Regions from separate parts of the Homo sapiens genome. Here region 2 is linked to region 1. Evidence: promoter capture Hi-C in 16 types of primary human blood cells and fetal thymus (Javierre and others, 2016). All regions are on one chromosome and are shown on one strand. Each heading gives the region's core, a stretch centred on a gene start or on the middle of the fragment in contact. The rest is flanking DNA. Distances are from core to core; before and after follow the strand shown. Region 1 holds the start of MKNK2 (MAPK interacting serine/threonine kinase 2). Region 2 holds the start of PEAK3 (PEAK family member 3).

Region 1 (2,955 bases), core at 1-2,500:
TGTTTGTGCGTGTATGTGTTCACACGCACACACACGCACCCACATGCACAATAAGGGGGGCTGGGGGACCTGGTTTTCTGTCCCCCCATTGCCAAGAGTCAGGGCAATGCCAGGTGCTGGGCTGGGTTCTGGCTGGGAATTCCCCACAGGCTTCCCCCCAATGCCCCGGGGGTGGCTGAGGCCAGGCCTCCCAGCCCCTGTGGCCTGAGAGCTGTGGCCTTGCAGGCAGGGGCCCTCCAGCTTCAGGTCAGTGGGGCTCCAGCCCCTCTTGAGCTCAGGGCCTGGTTGGGGGATGGTGGGATGGGCTGTGCGAAGCTTCTGGAAACCCCTGCAGAAGAGGAGACCACAGTCCACCCAGCAGGGGAACCCCCACTCCTTGTGTGCCCCAGGCCCGGGGCCTGGGGAGCACTTTGAACCAGGATGCTGTGGGATGGGGGACTGGCAGCTCAGGACAGGCTGATTCTATCTAAGCCTGGTTTGGGGCCCCAGCCAAAATGGGACTGTGTTTTACTTCCTGTCCTGGCGACCATCCACCCCTTGGGCTCTTTCCCAGTGGGTCTCAGGTCCCAGTTCTCCCTGAAATGCTATTCGAGGACAGAGGAAGGGTCCTTCACAGACCTCGGTCCCCACCCTCTACTCTGGTTCCTGCCAACCACAAAGCAAACTCGGGGAGCTCAGTGCTCCCCAGGCAGGGTGGCCCAGGGGAAGAAGAAAGTAGGTGGCGGTGGCTGGTCCCCCAGCACTAGAAGGGAGTGGCTGGGACTCCAAGCGTGCTGGTGGTGCACGAGGGGGACTGCTGGAGCCAGCACTGGAGAACTGCAAGAGGGAGCCATGGCAGGTTCTAGAGCGAGGGCATGAACCAAGGGAGTCGGGGTATACTAGGCCTGGGTTGACAGGCCAAGGGAGTTGCCCTGTGTGGGGCCAGGCGGTAGGACACGGCCCAGGGCCTCGCAGGTCCCACGGGCCCCGCGAGCCTCAGGCGGCAAAAACAGGCCAGCTCCGGGCGCGCCGCAGGGTCGCTGCCTAGGTTCCGCACCGAGACCCCCGTGCGCCGCACTGCGCAGGCGTGCGCTAGCCGTTTCGGACACGCCCCACCGCCGGAGCGCGCAGCCGCACTGGGTTCCCGGAGAGCGCCCTCTTCTGGCTCCGCCCACGTCGTGCGCAGGGGGTGAGGCCGGGCGGAGCCTGCGTCGGGGGCGGGGCCAGAGCAGGTCCGGGCCTATAAAGGTGGCGGCGGCGGCGACGCGCCCGGCTCCTCTCAGCGGCGGTGGCCCAGGTAGAGGGGTCCGCGCTGGCGGCGGCGGCGGCGCTGTTCCCCGCGCGGTCCGCGGAGCGGGGTCCGGGCTGCGCGACGTGGGGCGGCGGCGGCACTGCGGCCCCGGCCCAAGCCCGACCCCGGTGAGTGCGAACCCCAGGGCGGCCCCGAGGACACCGACCCGGTAGCGGGAAACGGGCCCCGCGGAGCCCTCGCCGCCCCCGCCCGGTCCGCGCTCCTGGCAGGCCGGGCTCCGCTCACCGCCCTCCCTTTGTCTGCTCCCGCCCGCAGGGTCCCCTCCTCGGCCGCCCCCCGCCCGGCCGCCCGCCCTCGGGCCTCCCCCCGGGCCCTCGGTCCCCTCCCCCGCTGGCGGGGCCCGGACAGAAGATGGTGCAGAAGAAACCAGCCGAACTTCAGGGTTTCCACCGTTCGTTCAAGGTGAGGCCCGGGGTCGGTTTGGGGGCGCTCCGGGCTGGACCACCGGAATGGCCGGCGTGGGGGGCGCGGGGCCCGCCCCTAAGATCGGCTCCCGGGGCTCGTGCCTGGCCCCCGCCCTACACCCGGGGCTGCCCGGGCCGGCCGTGCGCTGAAGCGGGGTCGGTGTGCGAGGATGGGGGTTCAGCAGGCCACAGTCCTCTCTCCAGCCATGGCCGCCGGGTCCTTCCTCCAGGACCCCCAAGTGAGGCTGGGAGCAGGAGCCCCCTCCGGGTCAGGGCACCAGGCTGTGTGTCCCCTGCAAGCCCCCGCCGGGTATGTTCTGGGGGGTCAGCAGGCTGCAGTCCTGTCCCAGTCGCTGCATGTGGCTTATGGGGGGTGTCCCCTGCAAGCTCCAGCTGGTTGTGCCCTGGTGGGGACGGGTCAGCGGGCCACAGTCCCATTCCCACCTCCATGTGGCTTCTGGGGACTTTCTTTCAGAATCCCCAGGCCGGGCTGGTCAGGTGCACCCACCCCCAGGGGGCCTGTGCCGTGGGGGAGGGGATGGGATGTCCCCTCAGCCCTGCACTTCGCAGACACCCCAGGCCCAAGTGCTGTTTCCTGTCGGAGCGGGAAGTTTCTGCGCAGCCCGGGTGGTGACTGCTGTTGAGTGCTGGTTTCAGATGAGCAAATCTTGGGGGGGAAGGGGAGGGCAGGTGCTGGGCAGGGGCCCCGCAGGACCTGGCCCAGGGGACGCAGTGATGTCAGCCGGCCCGCCCCACCCCTCAGGCCGGGGTTATGTAATCGCTTCACTGGGCTTCCTTGGGCAGGGACCTGTTGCCCGGTAGGGAAGGCAGGACTGGAGAGAGGAAGAGAGAGTGTGAGTGTATGTGTGTGTGTTTGTGTGTGTGTGTGTCTCTGTCTTGTGTGTACACACAACGCGGTGCTCCAGGGTGGGAGGAGCAAAGAGAGACTGGGAAGAATTCCCAGGTCTGTCCAGCCAGTGCCCCAGGGCAGCACTCCACCCCTGCCACCCCTGCCCAGTTTTCCCCTAGGGCAGCAGGCCTGGCACCATCAGAGTGTCAGGGGCTGGGCGGGAAAGAGGAGGACCTGACAGTGGTCTTCTCCCTCCTAGGGCCAGGCATGAGCTGATACAGAGTCAGTGCATGGGGCCAGCCAGGCAGCTAAAGCACACTTGAACTTTCTAGATGGTTCCAGCCACCTCCTGCCAAGGCCTGCTGACTCGAGTCCCACAGCCAGACCTAGAACAGTGGGACCAGGACCGC
Region 2 (2,955 bases), core at 299-2,798, 230 kb before region 1:
CAAAAATTAGCCAGGTGTGGTGGTGCACGCCTGTAGTACCAGCTACTTGGGAGCCTGAGGCAGGAGAATTGCTTGAACCCGGGAGGCGGAGGTTGCAGTCAGCCAAGATTGCGCCACTGCACTGCAGCCTGGACAACAGAGTGAGACTCCATCTCAAAAATAAATAAATAAAATAAAAATTAACCAGGCATGGTGGTGCACACCAGTGGTCCCAGCTACTCAGGAGGCTGAGGTGGGAGAATCACTTGAGCCCAGGAGGCGGAGGCTGCAGTGAGCTATGATCACACCACGGCACTCCAGCCTAGGGGACGGAGCTAGACCCTGCCTCAAAGAAAAAAAAGTGTGGCATGGGACCCACTCAAGGGAAGTTCATAAGAAAAATGTAGTCTCCTTCCCCTCCTGCCCCTTCTCAGGGGATTGGGGGAGGCCAGGGGGACTCAGCAGTGGCTCTGTGGACCTCTGCTCCCAGCCTCGAGCTGCTGCGTGACCCTGGATGGAGCCCCTACTCTTTCTGGGCCCATTTTCCCTAAGGGAAACGGGATCGGGGATCCCACATAAAATACACTCAATCCTTGCAGCAAAAACATCTTTGGGGCCGGGCAGGGTGGCTCACACCTGTGATCCTAGCACTTTGGGAGGCCGAGGAGGGAGGATCGCCCCAGGAGCTCGTTCCAGGCTGCAGTGAGCTGGGATTGCACCACTGCGCTCCAGCCTGGGCAACAGTGTGAGACCCTGTCTCCAAAGAAAAAGACAGTTTTGACAGGCACGCAGTTCAGCTGGAATTTCACCCCGCGTCTGCTTTTCCTTGGGTTTTTTCCATTCTTGATTTTTCCATTTATGGTGATTTTATCTAAAACGTCTTTTCTAAATAAATGCATCGAGGCAGTGAGGAAGGGGGAAGGGGGAAAACGAGCCGATTCCATCTTTTCAAAGAAAAATCCAGCAGGCGTGGCTGTTAGCAGGCGGGATGTGGGAGCCACTCTTCTTTCTTCGCCGGAGCACGGAGAGGGTGGGGATTTGCCCGCAGTCACACAGCGAGGCGCGGCAGAGCCGGGAGGGTCCTCGCCCACGCTCCACATTCGGGGGCCCTGGGATGGGGCAGGGGGCCGCTGGGGGCTCCTCAGATGCTGCCGCAGGAGGGGAGGTGGTTCCCGGGGAAGTGAAACCCACAGACCCCACTTGCACCTTCTCCAGGGACAGCCGCCACCGTGTTCTGTGCGCTCCCCTACGGTGGGCCAGCTCTGCCCCTCTCTCCCCATCTCACAGGGCTCCCCACTGCCCCGCACCCCAGCCTGGCCTCTGAGGCTGTGGGGGGCCTTCCACTGCCCCCACCCGGCTGTCAGCCCTGGGGCTATTGACTTTCAGATCCCACCTCCTGGTCTCTGTCCAGGCTGTTCCCTCCCGGTTACATCCTGTCCTCTGCGGGCGGGCAGGGGAGGCGGCGGCCTCGGCTGCTGGGGAAGTGTTGCAGAAATGTCCCCTCCCCACCCCGGGCTGCGGTCTGACAGTGGGCCGGACGTTTTCCTGTCAGCTGCCGGCGCCAGGTCAGACCCCTCCTGCGAGGCCAGGGGCTGTGGCCATTGGGAGTTTGTCCCCACGGACCCCTCCTCCCCCAGAGGGCACGCCAGTCTTGAAGGTAGGGGGCTCCTGGAGCGGGGAGCTGGACAGAAGCGGCCACTTTTTGAGGTTGGGATCTGGGCGGGGGTGGGTCGAGGCCTGGCTGCCGGCAGCAACCGCACGGCTGAGCCCTCGGGGATGAGGCCTGAGTGTGGATCCCTGGGTCCCTGGACACTGTCTCCCCCGCAACTGACCCCCAAAGGCCTGTCCTCAGGCTGAACACTCTGTCCCCATCCCAAACGTGCAGAGGGGGGTCCTTCCCACTGCCTGGAAAATTGATGGGTGACAGACCTGCCTCATGATTGAGGAAGTGGGCCCAGAGAGGGCAGGAAACCCACTCGGGATCACACAGCAGGGCCCCAGAGAGGGCAGGAAACCCACTCAGAATCACACAGCAGGGGCCCAGAGAGAGTAGGAAACCCACTCGGGATCACACAGCAGGGCCCCAGAGAGGGCAGGAAACCCACTCGGGATCACACAGCAGGGCCCCAGAGAGGGCAGGAAACCCACTCGGGATCACACATCAGGGGCCCAGAGAGGGCAGCAAACCCACTCAGGATCACACAGCAGGGCCCCAGAGAGGGCAGCAAACCCACTCAGAATCACACAGCAGGGGCCCAGAGAGAGTAGGAAACCCACTCGGGATCACACAGCAGGGCCCCAGAGAGGGCAGGAAACCCACTCAGAATCACACAGCAGGGGCCCAGAGAGAGTAGGAAACCCACTCGGGATCACACAGCAGGGCCCCAGAGAGGGCAGGAAACCCACTCGGGATCACACATCAGGGGCCCAGAGAGGGCAGCAAACCCACTCAGGATCACACAGCAGGGCCCCAGAGAGGGCAGCAAACCCACTCAGAATCACACAGCAGGGGCCCAGAGAGAGTAGGAAACCCACTCGGGATCACACAGCAGGGGCCCAGAGAGGACAGGAAACCCACTCGGGATCACACAGCAGGGGCCCAGAGAGGACAGGAAACCCACTCGGGATCACACAGCAGGGTCAAAACTGGACAAGGGAGTGGAGTGTGGGTGCGCCTGTTCTCACCAAGGGCCCTGGAGCAGGAGGCCTCGACGGTCTCCCAGGCCCCAGCACTCACGGACCCCTCCCCATGTCGCCCTGTGCGTGCACACGGTCACCCCACACACGCCCCGTTTGACCTTTCCCCAGCAACATGAGCAGCCCGGAGCCCCCCACAGAGCCCCCCGAGCCCGACAACCCCACCTGGTCGACTCAGCCCACGTATAGCAACCTTGGTAAGCAGCTCCCCAGGGAGCCCTGGGCTGCGGGGGTGCAGGGAGCGGCAGGGGGGTGCAGGGAGCGGCAGGTGGGTGCAGG

Evidence for each region. Contacts are between HindIII fragments. The CHiCAGO score rates a contact against its expected background, and 5 or more counts as called.
Region 2: the fragment with the promoter of PEAK3 here is called in contact with the fragment with the promoter of MKNK2 in region 1 in 1 of 17 cell types (neutrophils); the score reaches 5.2 in neutrophils.

What each region holds. Positions count from the first base shown.
Region 1 is chr19:2,049,539-2,052,493 of GRCh38, reverse strand. It overlaps MKNK2 (MAPK interacting serine/threonine kinase 2), which reads left to right and starts at 1,250. Exons shown (of 14, transcript NM_199054.3): 1 at 1,250-1,398; 2 at 1,547-1,693. The coding sequence starts at 1,643. RefSeq lists silencers at 1,076-1,615, 2,346-2,535 and enhancers at 2,106-2,165, 2,342-2,955. The HindIII fragment of the contact is 17,390 bases long and covers 318-2,955 here.
Region 2 is chr19:2,280,768-2,283,722 of GRCh38, reverse strand. PEAK3 (PEAK family member 3) reads left to right here and starts at 1,548. Exons shown (of 4, transcript NM_198532.3): 1 at 1,548-1,636; 2 at 2,788-2,873. The coding sequence starts at 2,792. RefSeq lists an enhancer at 1,693-1,832. The HindIII fragment of the contact is 9,031 bases long and covers 1-2,955 here.